Linked DNA regions of Homo sapiens: all the other regions are linked to region 3. The links are contacts of gene promoters, found by promoter capture Hi-C in human tissues and cell types (Jung and others, 2019). All regions are on one chromosome and are shown on one strand. The core of a region is centred on a gene start or on the middle of the fragment in contact, and the rest is flanking DNA. Distances in the headings are between cores, read along the strand shown. Region 1 holds the start of FOSL1 (FOS like 1, AP-1 transcription factor subunit). Region 2 holds the start of LTBP3 (latent transforming growth factor beta binding protein 3). Region 3 holds the start of SNX15 (sorting nexin 15).

Evidence for each region. The method cuts DNA at HindIII sites, captures the fragments that hold promoters and counts their contacts. A contact is called where the count stands out against the background at its distance.
Region 1: the fragment with the promoter of FOSL1 here is called in contact with the fragment with the promoter of SNX15 in region 3 in 1 of the 25 tissues and cell types used here (dorsolateral prefrontal cortex).
Region 2: the fragment with the promoter of LTBP3 here is called in contact with the fragment with the promoter of SNX15 in region 3 in 1 of the 25 tissues and cell types used here (aorta).

The regions. Positions count from the first base shown.
Region 1 is chr11:65,898,316-65,903,144 of GRCh38, reverse strand. FOSL1 (FOS like 1, AP-1 transcription factor subunit) reads left to right here and starts at 2,757. Exons shown (of 4, transcript NM_005438.5): 1 at 2,757-2,904. The coding sequence starts at 2,806. RefSeq lists a cis regulatory region at 1-19 and silencers at 2,366-2,965, 3,574-3,693, 3,659-3,886. The HindIII fragment of the contact is 4,995 bases long and covers 1,935-4,829 here.
Region 2 is chr11:65,555,748-65,560,794 of GRCh38, reverse strand. LTBP3 (latent transforming growth factor beta binding protein 3) reads left to right here and starts at 2,436. Exons shown (of 28, transcript NM_001130144.3): 1 at 2,436-3,166. The coding sequence starts at 2,836. RefSeq lists silencers at 2,158-2,317, 2,368-2,607. The HindIII fragment of the contact is 15,125 bases long and covers 1-5,047 here.
Region 3 is chr11:65,025,800-65,030,865 of GRCh38, reverse strand. SNX15 (sorting nexin 15) reads right to left here and starts at 3,427. Exons shown (of 8, transcript NM_013306.5): 1 at 3,230-3,427. The coding sequence starts at 3,328. ARL2-SNX15 (ARL2-SNX15 readthrough (NMD candidate)) reads right to left here. Exons shown (of 11, transcript NR_037650.2): 4 at 3,230-3,548. It also overlaps the pseudogene EEF1A1P18. RefSeq lists a silencer at 3,296-3,465 and an enhancer at 3,315-3,609. The HindIII fragment of the contact is 29,710 bases long and covers 1-5,066 here.

The sequences.
Region 1 (4,829 bases), core at 1,508-4,007, 870 kb before region 3:
GTGATGTTTCTGGAGCAGGCAAGTGAATGCAGTCAAGGCTGACCTGTGTCACCCCTCCCCTGGTTACCTGTGTCACACTTGACCTGTCCAGCTTGGGCTCTGCCAAGAAGTTGAGGTATCAGTGTGTGTGCACATGTGCTGTGTGAGTGCCTTCATGTGTGATCAGTCCCAAAGGCTCTCACCCCTGGGTTGTTTTGTTTTGTTTTGTTTTTTGACGGAGTCTTACTCTGTTGCCCATGCTGGAGTGCAATGGCGCAATCTTGGCTCACTGCAACCTCCGCCTCCCGGGTTCAAGCGATTCTCCTGCCTCAGCCTCCCAAGCAGCTGGGACTACAGGCATGGGCCACCATGCCCAGCTAACTTTTGTATTTTTGGTAAAGACGGGGTTTCTCCATGTTAGTCAGGCTGGTCTCGAAATCCTGACCTCGTGATCCACCTGCCTCAGCCTCCCAAAGTGCTGGGATTACAGGCGTGAGCCACGGCACCCAGCCTATGTGTCAAATTCTTACTATGTGCTGTGCTAAGCATGTGACATTACTTGTGTCCTCCAACAACCCTTGAGATAGTTATCATTATGTCTCCATTTCACAGATAATGAAAGAGGCTCTGAGAGATTGTGTGCCTCACCTAGGTCACACAACTGGTGAGCAGCCTAACCACATTCAAACCCAGACCCCAGAGCTGTCTGACCCCAGCACGGGTGTTCTGTCCACGGATCATACTGCCTCAAAAACACTCTCCTCTCCTTTCTCTCTCTCTTTCTCTCTCTCTCTCTCTCTCTCTCACACACACACACACACACACACACAGAGATGATGATGACAAGAGGGTGACAAGCATTGGGTCGCTCAAAGGCAAAGGAGAGGCACCAGGCTGGTAACCACTTTCTGAGTGCATAACACTTTATAGCTTACAAAGCATTTTCACATCTGTGATCTCACTTGATCCCACAACAGCTCTGTGAGATCAGCAGGGAGGCCCAGTTGAAGGAAGGTGACCTGCCCAGTGTCACACAGACAGAAAATGGTAGCTCTGGGACTAGAACCCCAGGGGCAATCTGGACTTCCTGGCTCTAAGTCCTGAGTGCACCCACAGGCTTCTGGCCTGTGTTCCCAAGGAAAGTAGCCCAGAGGGCAAAGCTAGAGCTGATGAAATGGAAGGACCGATGGAGAAGCAGGAGAGCCCAGCCCTCTCTTGATCTATTTACTTTGAGTCTTGCTCTGTCCCCCAGGCTGGACTGCAGTGGCGCAGTCACAGCTCACCGCAGCCTCAACCTCCCTGGCTTAAGCCATCCTCCCGCCTCAGCCTCCAGAACAGCTGGGACCACAAGGCAGGCGTACCACCATGTCCAGAAAATTTTATAATTTTTTGTAGAGATGGGGTCTCAAATGGTTCTTTCTGCCTTGGCCTTCCAAAGTGCTAGGATTACAAGCATGAGCCACCACACCTGGCCCCAGCCCTCTTTCTGTAGTCGTGTGACAACTGACAGCTCAGTACTCCATCTGGGCCTCAGTTTCCTCATCTATGATGGAAGTAATCAGAGAGAAGCTTTGGGATGGTGCCCAGCACTAACATTCTGGATGTGCGACAAGGTGTCTGTGAAGGTGTAAGGGCTTTGAAAATCTTGGCTGAGCCTGGGCTTGGAGTGCCCACGGCTGTGACTTGGCAACCTGTGCCAGCTACTCACTTAGCGACTTCAAGCAATTCATTTCAGCATCTCCCAGCCTCAGTTTCCCCATCTGTAAAACAGAGATGAGGATGATACCTGCCTCACATTCACTCACCTTTGACATACTCTCCAAACAAGTCTGGTGGCCACAAGCCTCCGAAAGGCACTGACCGTAATGAAGATGGCGTTTATCAGACCTCAGGACACCTGTAGTGGCCCTGAATTAAAACTCGTTATAGCTCCTGAAATTATCCTGAGTAATACTATTATATTGCATTTTATGTGGGGTTAGTTCAAAGCATTACCTTATCGCAAACATTTAAAATATACCACCCAGCCTGGGCAATACGGCGAGACCCAATCCCTACAAAAAACACAAAAATTACCTGGGTGTGGTGACGCGCGCCTGTAGTCCCACTTACTTGGAGGGGGCGCTGAGGCAGGAGAATCCCTTTAGCTCAGGAAGTTGAGCCTGCAGTGCGCCGAGATCGAGCCACTGCACTCCAGCCTGGGTGACAGAGACCCGGTCTCAAAAATATAAAGTAAAATAAAATATGCCACCATTTTTGTAACCCTGGTTTGTCATTTATTCACTTTTCATATACTCGAAGCCTTAAAACAAGGCCAGTGGAAAGACCTCACTCCACGAAGCTTTGGGTGGCGGTTGGCGTGGCTCCTAGAGATGTGATTCTTTCGTGCTATTTTGTGGGAGCAGAAACGGAGGTTAGCCCAGGCCTCGAGAGGGCTGGGGCGGGGCGCGGGCTCTGGCAGGTGCGTCAGTCCGCAGGGGAACCCGGGGCTCCACCTGGGCGCGGCGAGGAAGTTACACCATGTATGGGCAGCTACGTCAGGGGGGCGGGCCCGCAGCCTCCGGGGAACGCCGAGCCGGGCCCATCCCGGTGAAAAGGCTGCAGCCGGACTTGGGGAGGCGTCGCCAAGTTCGGGACCGACGGGCCAAGGCGGCGCGTCTCGGGGGTGGAGCCTGGAGGTGACCGCGCCGCTGCAACGCCCCCACCCCCCGCGGTCGCAGTGGTTCAGCCCGAGAACTTTTCATTCATAAAAAGAAAAGACTCCGCACGGCGCGGGTGAGTCAGAACCCAGCAGCCGTGTACCCCGCAGAGCCGCCAGCCCCGGGCATGTTCCGAGACTTCGGGGAACCCGGCCCGAGCTCCGGGAACGGCGGCGGGTACGGCGGCCCCGCGCAGCCCCCGGCCGCAGCGCAGGCAGCCCAGCAGGTGAGTGGGGCCCGACGCCGGTGGTCCCACGGGAGGACCGCGCGTGGGAGGCCGGGGTCAACTCCCGCACGCTCCGGGACTGGAGCGGGGAACCGGAGTCGGGGCCGGGCTGGGGGCTGGGGCGAGGATCCTGCCCCTCGCCGTCCGGGGCCAGTTGCCCCCACCGCGCAGCGGGCAGCAGAGACCCGCGAACTCCCCTTCTCCCAGCCGCCCCCTTCTCCCTCGCCGTCCGCGTCCGTCCCTCCGTCTCCGTGCCCGCTTTCTCTCCTCCTGCCCACCTCTGACTTCTGCGTCCACCCTGCTTCAGAAGGGGCGTGGGCGCCTAGGGTGGTCGCCTCGAAGGCTAGGAGGGTCTCTCCGCTTCGGGCTGAATTCCTGGGATCTGGAGTCTGGGCTGGGGTGAGGGTCCCCACACGGGAGGGAGGCGGGATCCGTCGGGAGAGCAGCTGGGCCAGGGTGGGAGTCCCGGCCCGGTCTGCGACCCTCCGCGTGTCCGTCCGTCTGTCTGTCCTTCGCCCCTCCGTCGCCAAGTCCCTATCGTTTCTCGGCCTGGGGAGTCCAGGGGGGTCCGGGCAGTGGAACCTGCCAGGTCCCCGGAGACCGGCCCTCGATCCCTTTGCCGAATGCGGCGAATAGAGACCTCGAGGTTCCGGGACGTGCGCGGGGTCAGGCTGCGGGCGACTCTCGCGACCCCACTCTCAGCCCCTAACGGCGCCCGCTGCCCGCCGGGGGGCACCCGGGAGGCTGCAGGTGCCCATTTCCTGTCGAGGGGCTGCGAGCACGTGTCGACAGGGGAGGGAAGGAGGGGCGTCCGTTCCGCCGAGTCACGGCGGCCGAGTCACGGCGGCTGAGTCACCCGGGGCGTCCCTCCCTTCCTGGCCTGGAGCGGCCCGGGCCCGGGAGTGGGAGATGCCGCCGGCGGTGCCTCGGACCCGGAACTGGGGTCACTGGGACGCCGGGCCCGCAGCGCTTGGGCTCGGGCTACCGCTGTCGGGACTTGCCTGGGCTTGTGGGCGCTTCCCGGACGATTGGGCGCCCACACCCAGGGCCCAGCGGCAGAGCTAGAACCCACTTCTCCCAGAACACTGAGCCCCATCCCAACCCACTCCTCAGATAGCTGGCTGATAGAATGGGAACAGGGACGTTGTGCTGGGCGCTTGCTACATCATTTACCATATTTCACGGAATCGAAGACCTCATCGATTGAAAAAAAAACCCACTATAACTTTATGCCACTAATTTTCTTTCCTTCTCTTTCTTTTCTTTTTTTTTTTTTTTCTGAGACAGGGTCTCCCTCTGTTGCCCAGACTATAGAGCAGTGGTGCAATCACAGCTCACTGCAGCCTCAGCCTCCTGGGCTCAAGCAATCCTACTGAGATCCTAGCTGGGAAGCGACCTGGCCACAGGCACGCACCACCACACCCAACTAATTTTTTAATTTTTTTGTAGAAATGAAGTCTCACTGTGTTGCCCGGTGTGACCTCAAACTCCTGAGCTCAAGTGATCCTTCTACCTCAGCCTCCCAAAGTGCTGGGTATGAGCCACCATGCCTAGTCCACTAAAATTTTTTAAATTGCCAATTAAACTATGATTTCAGAGCTATTAAAGGGTACTTCTTAACATCAGTGAAATCCTGTAATCCTCACCTGTAACAATATTAAAAATGAGGAAACTGAGGCACATGGAGGTTAAATAACTTGCCCATGGTCACACAGCCAGTAAGTAGCTGAGAGCTGAGATTAGAATTGGGACAGCCTGCCATGCCAGGTGGCTAAAGCCTGTCATCTCAACACTTTGGGAGGCTGAGGTGGGTGGACTGCTTCAGCTCAGGAATTTGAGACCACCCTGGGCAACCTAGTGAGACCCTGTCTCTACAAAAAAATTTAAAAAAAATTAGCCAGGCCGTGCGCGGTGCCTCATGCCTA
Region 2 (5,047 bases), core at 1,187-3,686, 530 kb before region 3:
CCTGGGCACCCTGGGCTCTCTTCTCTCCATAGTAAGCCCACCCTTTCCCGCTGTCGTAGATGCCCCCTGTATAACCCCAAGCCTCTGTCTCCAGGCCAGACATCCTGTCTGAGCTGCAGACTCCCGGGTTCGGGCACCTCCACTTGGATGACTCACAAGCATCTCAAACTCAGCAGGACCAGAACAGAGCTGTGGACCCTGCCCCATGTTTCCAGCTCCTCTGCCTCCCCTCTTCTTCGCCCATCCAGAGATCAGGCCAGGAATCTGGGGGCCATTCATGCCACCTACCTCTCCAGCACCCCTACTTCACCCAGTCTTTACATCTCCCCTCCCAAATACATCTCTCCCAGGGCCAAGTGAGATCTCTCTCCTGGGATGAAGGCAGAGTGCCCGCTCTTGCCCTGACACAGTCCCACTGCAATGAGAATAAAAGCAAATTCCTCACCATGGCCGGCCCCTCCCACCACCACTACACCTTCGGCTCTCCCTCTCCACCACACCCTGTTGTTCCACTGGCCTTCCCTCAGTTCTCTGGATAGCCTCCCCCTGCAGCCTCCCCTGAGGTCAGATGCCCACAGGTGTGACTCACTCCTACTCATCTTCCAGCTTCCGATGGAAGACTCTCTTTGTCTCCCAGGTCCCAGCCCTCTCCTGTCCTGCTTCCCTGCCCTTCTCTGTCACGGTACCAGCCTCTGTTGTAGCCACAGTTCTGTGTGAATTGATCTGGCACATATCCAGCTCTCCTAGTACAGCAGCTCCAGGAAGGCAGGACTGGTTCTATTTGTGGCCAAGAGCTTAGGATGTGGTGGAGTCTCAGTTTGTTGAGTGAATTTTTTACATTTATTTTTTAATTTTTTGTTTTTTATTACCAGTAGTTGAACATAGATGTTGAGTGAATAGATACCCATCTCACAAGCAAGGAAACTGGGGCTTAGAGACAGTAAGAATCCAACCCTGGACTGTTTGACTGTGCTGTGCTCCATGGTGAGCCACAGCCAGCTCTAGGCAGAGTCAGGACAGGTTCAGATGAGTGTTAGGAAAAAATGAGTATACAATGCTCAGCCCTGTGCCTGGCAGGTGGTCGGCACCTAGCATTATTCCCTGCCTCCGTGTGGACCAGGGCCCCAAGAAGCAGGGGCTTGCCCCTCACACCCCATCCTGGATTCCGGCAGCAGGGATCCCTGGGGACATGTGATTGTCCCTCCCAGCCCTGCACCGCTTAGTAAGGGGGACTTACTAAGCGTCCCCCTAAAGCTACCCACATCAACTTACGCTCAAAGTAAAAACAGAGTTCCTTGGACAGGTGTGCCTGAAAGTGAGTCCCTGAACCTCCTCTCCCCAATTAGACTGCTGCCCCGGGTGCTGTCCGGGAGAGGGTCTGGTGCCGCCCTGACTTGGCAGCGCTTTTCCTGGATGTGCCCTAGCCGTCCCCACCTCCTGCTGAGTTCTGTGAGTCAGAGACGGAACCCTGGGGTCTCCTGGCAGGCCCCACAGTAAGGCCTGGGCCCCCGCACGTTGCAGCCTTTCCTTCCAGACCAGCGGACAAGCCTGGTCTGGAACTATGCTCCTCTCCAGCCATGGCCAACCTGAAGACCCCCACCCCCAGCCGCTGCCAGCCCCTGCCCTGGGGCTCTGCTGTGCCCCTCTCCAGCCCCTGGGCCCTCGGACAGCGCCCCCGTCCTCCCGGCTGTTAGCCTGGGAAGGGGGCCAGGCCCTGAGCTCAGACCTTGGCGATTCCAGAGTGTCTGAGGCCCAGAGCCAGCCCCGCCAGCACGGCCAGACGAAAGGAAAGGGGGGAGGTGGCAGGGTGGGCACCAGGAAGCCATTCCGAGGGGGCTGGCAGGGAAGCTGGGTTCTAGCTTTGTTCTTTCTGCTCCTCTTCTGGACCCCACAGACTTCCTCCTGGGACCTCCGTGAGCCCTGGCCAAAGGCTGTCCCCACCCTTTAGCCCTTTCCTCAGAGGGGATTGGACCAGCACTAACGAGAAGTTACTTTGGGGCCCTGAGACCCCCACGTTTGCAAGGGAGGCTGGGAAAGAGCTGGAAGGCCTGGGCTCCGGCTCCACCCGGCCTCCATCGTCAGTGTGACCCGGCAGGGCCACCTCTCTCCCTCAGCCTCGGTATCTCGCTCTACGCAGGCCTCCCCGCCCCGCCCCGCCCGGAGGAATCCGCGGCCGGCCAGACGGTCCCAGGTGAGGGCCCTCTGGAAAGGGCCCAGCGCGGCCGCGGGTTCCGGCGGGGGCGGGCATCTGGGGTGGGGACTGTCCCCGCGCCACCCCCCAGCCTCCGCCAGCCTGCACACCCTCGCTTCTCCAGGCGGCAGAGGCGACGCTTTAAACAACAAAAAAAAAAAAACTGTGTCCCTGGCCCGGGGCCAGCGTCCCAGCCCCCCTCGCCGCCGCCGCGCCGCGCTCCAGCCAGGGAAAACAACTGCTCACTTCTCCCTGAGCCCTCCCCGCGCGCTCCCTGCCTCCCCGCGGCCGCGGGAGAGGAGCCCGGCCAGGGGGAGGCGCGGAGCGGGCCGGCCGCCCGGCCTTCCTCTCCCTCGCTCCTCCTCTCCGCCTCAACTTGCTCCGGCCTCCTCGCTCCTGCCTGAGTTCGGGGCCTGGTCTGGGCTTCGTCCTGGGGCTGGGAAGTTTCTGCGCTCCCCGCTGTCCAGTCTGCATCTCCGCGCCTCCCGCCGGGCCCCCGCGGTCCCCTCCCGCCCGCTTCCCCCGCTGCCCTCCCTCGCTGCCCCCTACCCTCTCCCGGGGCTCCCGGCCCTCTACTCCCTTCGGGCGCGGGCCCCTCGCCCCGCCCGGGCGCGCCCCCCCTCCCCCGGGTCCTGCGGCCCCGGATGCCCGGGCCCCGAGGGGCTGCTGGCGGCCTGGCCCCTGAGATGCGCGGGGCGGGGGCGGCGGGGCTGCTGGCGCTGCTGCTGCTGCTGCTGCTGCTGCTGCTGGGCCTGGGCGGCAGGGTCGAGGGGGGGCCGGCCGGCGAGCGGGGCGCAGGCGGGGGCGGGGCGCTGGCCCGCGAGCGCTTCAAGGTGGTCTTTGCGCCGGTGATCTGCAAGCGGACCTGTCTCAAGGGCCAGTGTCGGGACAGTTGTCAGCAGGGCTCCAACATGACGCTCATCGGAGAGAACGGCCACAGCACAGACACGCTCACGGGCTCCGGCTTCCGCGTGGGTGAGGGCCGGGGGCACGGCTGGGGGCAGGGGAAGGACAGGCACCAGGCCCGGTGGGAGAGCTAGTGGGGTCTTGGCCTTAGAGACTGGGGGCTGAGGGTATAAAGGGCAGAGATCCGAGGGCCTGGGGGACCAGGGGCCTCAGGGAACTTGGGAGGCTGGAACTCTGGGGGCCAGAGTTGGAGGGCTGCATGGAGGCCTGGACTTTGAAGCTTTGCGTTAGGGTTGGGGCCTAAGGGGTGGGGAAATGCAGAGGTCCTGGATGACACTGGCTTCCCAGAAGGTGCTGAGTTCTGAGCAGGAGCACACAGGGTTTTTGAGGAATGTGAGCCGGGGACAGGAAGCCTCAGAGAAGGGCTAAATATTCCCGCAAGAAGCAGACTTGCTGGAAGAAACAAGAAAAGTCTTTACAAAATGTCTAAAGTAGGGCCTGCCAGAGTAGACACCTGCATTCCCTGGGAGGAGGAGCTAAGGTCAGGGCTGGGGATGGGAGCCGGCTACTGGCAAGGTCTGAGTAGGGAGGGTGTTGAGGCCTAAAAGTAGGGTGCAGGCCTGAAGGTAGGGACTAGTTCGGGGTTCTCAGCCTCTCCTTTTCCAATGCCTCCCCATAAGCTCCTAACATCCTGCCTCAGAGGCCCTCAGGGCCCCCCTCATCCTCCCCCAAGCCCCTACACCCTCCCCAGTTCAGCTTGGAGTCCACCCCCTCCCCAGCATCTCTCTTTAAAGGGCCAGGCCTGGGGCTCAGTCATCCTCCTGCTAGGCCCCGTGGGCCAGGCTCGGGGAGGTGTCCCAGCAGTAATTACCCTCCTGGACAGGGTAATTAGGCCAGGCCCAGGATGGCACCAGCAAAACAGCCCCTCTTACACATTCCTATATTCACTCTCCCACTCACAGAGCTAAGGAACCCCACTCATGTGGCTCAAATTTGTCATGAGATGGGGTGTGCGTGCGTGTGTCTGTGCGCATATTGCCCCTGTGTCTGGGGTCATGCCATGGGCATGGCGTGGCACACTGTGAAGTACCCGTCTTTGTGTTGTCTTGGGTGTGTGTCTCTAGTCGCTGTTAGAGAGTATGTGGGAATGTTTTTGTTTTTGTGTTTTTGAGATGGAGTTTTGCTCTTGTTACCCAGGCTGGAGTGCAATGGCGCAATCTCAGCTCACTGCAACCTCCCCCTTCTGGGTTCAAGTGATTCTCCTGCCTCAGCCTCCCAAGTAGCTGGGATTACAGGCATGCGCCACCACGCCTGGCCAATTTTTTTGTATTTAGTAGAGATGGAGTTTCACCATGTTGGTCAGCCTGGTCTCAAACTCCTGATCTCGAGTGATCTACCTGCCTCGGCCTCCCAAAGTGCTGGGATTACAGGTGTGAGCCACTGCGCCCGGCCAAATGTATGGGAATGTTTATGTGAACCTGTGTTGGTGTCAGGATGAGTCTCTGTGTGTGTGTGACAAGAGGACTGTGGGTGTGAGTGTACGTGTGTCCATCTCCCAGGCTCCCTGGCCATCCTGCCCAGGCTGCTGTCTCCATCTGTGCTGCCCACATCCCCCAGGCTCGGTGCCCAGGCCACAGTGGGCGGGTGTCATTGGGAGGTCACTCTCACCGCTATGAGTGACTCACTGGCAGAAAGGAAAAAGAGAATCCTACCTCCCCCCGCCCAGGACACACCCCTCTGCTCTGTGAGGCCTGGCCCCAAGAGGCCAGGCAGGATGGGCTGGGCTGGGATGTGCTTAGCCTGACCCTGAGGGCCATGGATATGGGCTGTCCCTGTGAGGCCCTTCTGGCATCCAGGAGAGCAGCACCCCCGCCCTCCTGCCCTCCTGCCCTGGGAAGTGAGGGCAGCCATGGGGTGGGCAGGAGAAGGGCTGGGGCTTTGGGATGAGTC
Region 3 (5,066 bases), core at 2,178-4,677:
TTTTGACAACAGAGACTTGCCTAAAATATTCTGGTAAAAGAAACTATTTAAAAGCCATTGAGTGGCCAGGTGTGGTGTCTCATGCCTGTAATCCCAGCACTTTGGGAGGCCGAGGTGGGAGAATCACTTGAGGTCAGGAGTTCGAGACCAGCCTGGCCAACCAACATGGTGAAATCCTGTCTCTACTAAAAATACAAAAATTAGCCAGGCGTGGTGGCAAGTGCCTGTAGTCCCAGCTACTCAGGAGGCTGAGGCAGGAGAATCACTTGAACCCAGGAGGCAGAGGTTGCAGTGAGCTGAGATCATGCCACTGCACTCCAGCCTGGCAACACAGTGAGACTCCATCTCAAAAAAAAAAAAAAAATTATAGGCCAGGTACGGTGGGTCATGGTGGCCTGTAATCCTAACACTTTGGAAGGCCAAAATGGGAGGATTGCTTGAGGCCAGGAGTTTGAGACCAGCCTGGGCAACATGGCAAAACTCTGTCTCTACAAAAAAAAAAATTTTTTTTTGAGATGGAGTCTCACTCTGTCACCAGGCTGGAGTGCAGTGGTGTGATCTCGGCTCACTGCAACCTCTGCCTCCCGGGTTCAAGCAATTCTCCTGCCTCAGCCTCCCGAGTAGCTGGGACTACAGGTGAGCGCCACCATGCCCAGCTACGTTTTGTACTTTTAGTAGAGACGGGGTTTCACCATGTTGGCCAGAATGGTCTCGATCTCTTGACCTCATGATCCACCCGCCTTGGCCTCCCAAAGTGCTGGGATTACAGGCGTGCGCCACCACGCCCAGCCTCTACAAAAAATTTAAAAATTGAGCTAGGCGTAGTGGTACATGCTTGTAGTCCCAGCTACTCAGGAGGCTGAGGCAAGAGGATGGATTGAATGCAGGAACTTGAGGCTGCAGTAAGACGTGAATCATGCCACTGCACACCAGCGTGGGTGACAGAGCAAGACCCCGTCGCAAATAAAATAAAATAAAATAAAAATATAGGCCAGGCGCGGTGGTTCACACCTGTAATTCCAGCACTTGGGAAGGCCGAGGTGGGAGGATAACTTGAGGTCAGGAGTTCGAGACCAGCCTGGCCAACACAGTGAAATCCCGTCTCTACTAAAAACACAAAAAGTAGCCGGGTGTGGTGGCACACGCCTATAATCCCAGCTACTCAGGAGGCTGAAGCAGGAGAACTGCATGAACCCAGGAGGTGGAGGCTACAGTGAGCTGAGATCACACCACTGTACTCCAGCCTGGGCGACAGAGCAAGACTCCGTCTCAAAAAATATATACATACATATATTTATATATTATGTGCTTTATATTTTATATTTATTATATATAATACATTGTATTATATAATATGTATAAAAATATATCAAAGTAATGCATGTTGCTTGGTTTAAAAAGCCAATGGGAGGCCGGGTGTGGTGGCTCACACCTGTAATCCCAGCACTTTGGGAGGCCAAGGCGGGTGGATCATGAGGTCAAGAGATCGAGACCATTCTGGCCAACATGGTGAAACCCCATCTCTGCCAAAAAATACGAATATTAGCTGGGCATGGTGACGCGTGCCTGTAGTCCCAGCTACCTGGGAGGTTGAGGTGGGAGAATCTGAACCCGGGCGACGGAAGTTTGCAGTGAGCTGAGATCGAGTCACTTCACTCCAGTCTGGGCGACAGTGAGACTCTGTCTCAAAAACAAAACAAAACAACGACACAAAAAAGCCACTGGGAAGACTTATTTTTATTTATTTATTTATTTATTTATTTATTTATATTTTTGAGACGGAGTCTCGCTCTGTCTCCCAGGCTGGAGTGCAGTGGCACAATCTCGGCTCACTGCAAGCTCCACCTCCCGGGTTCACTCCATTCTTCTACCTCAGCCTCCCGAGTACCTGGGACTACAGGTGCACGCTGCCACGCCCGTAAGTTTTTGTATTTTTAGTAGAGATGGGGTTTCACCATGGTAGCCAGGATGGTCTCGATCTCCTGACCTCGTGATCCGCCCGCCTCGGCCTCCCAAAGTGCTGGGATTACAGGCGTGAGCCACCGCGCCCGGCCACCACTGGGAAGACTTATAATAAAAGGTTACAGTTCCTTGCCACATCCTCCCCACCCCAGCCCCACCTCCAGTCTATCTTCCCAGGGACAATCTATTTATTTGCTTTTTTTTTTTTTTTTTTTAAAGTTGTGTGTGTGTCTGTATTTTAATATTGATCCGGGGTCTCACTATGTTGCCCAGGCTCGTCTTGAGCTCCTGAGCTCAAGCAATCTGCTGCCTCAGCCTCCCAAAGTGCTGGGATTTACAGGCATGAGCCACTGAGCCCGGCCTTATTTGCATTATTTTTAGGCATGGAAAAGACGTAAACGGTTTGGGGAAAGCATATTTTAAATAGCTAAGATTCTGCACTTAGATCACTTTGGAAGTGTCCTTATGTGCCTGCTTTGCTTTTAGAGTTAACTAATGCACCAGCTTAATAGTCGCCTGGTTGAAAATTCTAAAAGTACAAAAAATTTACAGTAAAAAGTCTTCCCCTAACTCCTGTCCCCAGTGACACAGTTCCTCTCCCTGGGGACCTTCCTTGTTACCAGTTCTTGTTATCATTCTACAGGTGTCCTGTTTTACTGTTTCATTTTTAATTATTGTCATGGTTTCCTCCATGTCTCTCTATAAATTGTGCTTATGATGTTGTTATCGCTTCATATATCAACTCTAGCCTATCTATCTTCCTGCTGTGACCTTGATATGGCGACTTACTCCTTAAGTCCTTCTGAACTGCATCAATTTTTTTCAACCACTGATCAGTATTATTTTTTGAAAAATTAAAAATGGTTAAACTCGTTAAAGGGAGTTTATGTAACATCAAACAAACCAATAAACAAAACTTACTCTACGAGAATGGAGTACTAATATTTGGATTAAACCAGAGTTTTCATGTTAATTTAGAGAAATTCACAGCCTGATGCCCAGACACTACACTCCGGGCGTGGGCATACACGCCTTGCCTGTCCGGGAACGGCCGTCAACGCCCTTTTAAAAAAGACAGCGCCCACCCAGGACCCCGCCCCCTGGTGGTTAAAGATGTAAACTAAGCCTCGTACTGCAACCTCCCCTTAAAGGGGAAACCCATTTCTGTCGTCTAAAAAGGGAGCAGTGGCTGCACCGCCTTTCCTTAAGGTAAAACTCGGCGCCCCTCTAGTTAAAAGGGTAAAGTACGCGCTGGGCCCCACCTCACCTGCGCGGTTACTTTGTACTCGGTGTAGCCCTTGGGGTGAGTCCTGGGGTCCGACACTGTGTAGTGCCGCAGGAAGTCATCCTTCGCCTGGCGGGACATGAAACCGAGCTGGAGCGGAGCGGAGCGCCGGCCTCCACCTCCTCGCCGTCCCCACCCCTCCGGCCCAGCCTCCGCCCGCCGCCGCCTCGCCAGGCCTGCGCTCTTCTTCCTCTGGCCTAGGGATTTTGTCGCAAGTGACAGCGCTGTTCCGATCCCGGGTGCGCGGCCAAGGGAGCGTCTGAAAAGTTCCTTCTCTGTGGTGAAGCGTAAACCCAGGTCACTGGAAAGATTGGTTGGGAAGGCTGGGATCACTCGTCTCATTTCTGCCGGGTGATCAAGCCCACCCTATCCAAGCGTAAACCCTTGTCACAGACTTCCAAACGACTTCTCCCCGCTTCCTAAATCCCTGCTTTCGTTCATCCACCCAACTCTTATTGTGTCCAGTATGTACAGGACAACGTCAAATTATTTCCCTGTCTCCCTCCACAGGATTCCCTAATTCATGTTTTCTGGAAAGTAGAGGAAGCAAAGAAGGTTGGAGAAGCAGGATGGTGTCATGGGCTCTGAGTCACGACTCTTACTAGCTGTAGGAGTTTCCCTTAACTACTCAGCCTCAGTTTCTCATCTGTAGAATGGAGATGTTTATAATAGAATCTGTGTAGGGCAGTGGAGCTTTTTTGCGATGGGTTTGCTGCCAGAACACAGGTGTCGTGAAAACCACCGTTAAATCAAAGCCAAAATGGGGGTTTGGCGCGGTGGTTCACGCCTGTAATCCCAGCATTTTGGGCAGTGGAGGCAGGTGGATCACTTGAGGTCAGGAGTTCAAGACCAGCCTGGCCAACATGGTGAAACCCCGTTTCTACTAAAAATACAAAAATTAGCTGGGCGTGGTGGCGCACGCCTGTAATTCCAGCTACTCCAGGGGCTGAGCTGGCTGATGGCTTCAGCCCAGGAGGTTGAGGCTGCAGTGAGCTGCAATCACACCACTGCACTCCAGCCTGGGCAACAGAGTGAGACTCCATCTCAAAAGAAAGGGAGCAGGGGAGGGAAAAGACTCAGCTCAACATCATCATCTGATTTGGGCAAGTCCAGCACTACTGGCCATCTGATCTACAAGTGTGGTGGGATCCACAAAAGAACCATCGACAATTTTGAGGAAGCTGCTGAGATGGGAAAGGGCTCCTTCAAGCATACCTGGGTCTTGGGTAAGCTGAAAGTTGAACGTGAGAGTGGTATCACCACTGATACCTCCCTGCTGGCAATTGAGACCAGCAAGTACTATGTGACCATCCTCAATGGCCCAGGATGCAGAGACTTTATCAAAAACCTGACCTCAGGCTAATTGTGCTGTCCTGATTGTTGCTGCTGGTGTTGATGAATTTGAAGCTGGTAATTCCAAGAATGGGCAGACGCGTGAGCACACCCTTCTGTCTTACACGCTGGGTGTGAAACTAATTGTTGGTGTTAACAAAATGGATCCCAATGAGCCACCCTAAAGAGGAGAGATGGGGGCCGGGCGTGGTGGCTCACGCCTGTAATCCCAGCAGTTTGGGAGGCAGAGGTGGGTGGATTAGGAAGTCAGGAGTTCAAGACCAGCCTGACCAAGATGGTGAAACCCCGTCTCTACTAAAAATACAAAAATTAGCTGGGCATGGTGGCGGGTGCCTGTAATCCCAGCTACTTGGGAGGCTGAGGCAGAGAATTGCCTGAAACCAGGAGGCAGAGGTTGCAGTGAGCTGAGATCGTGCCACTGCACTCCAGCCTGGGAGACAGAGGACAGAGTGAGACTCCGTCTCAA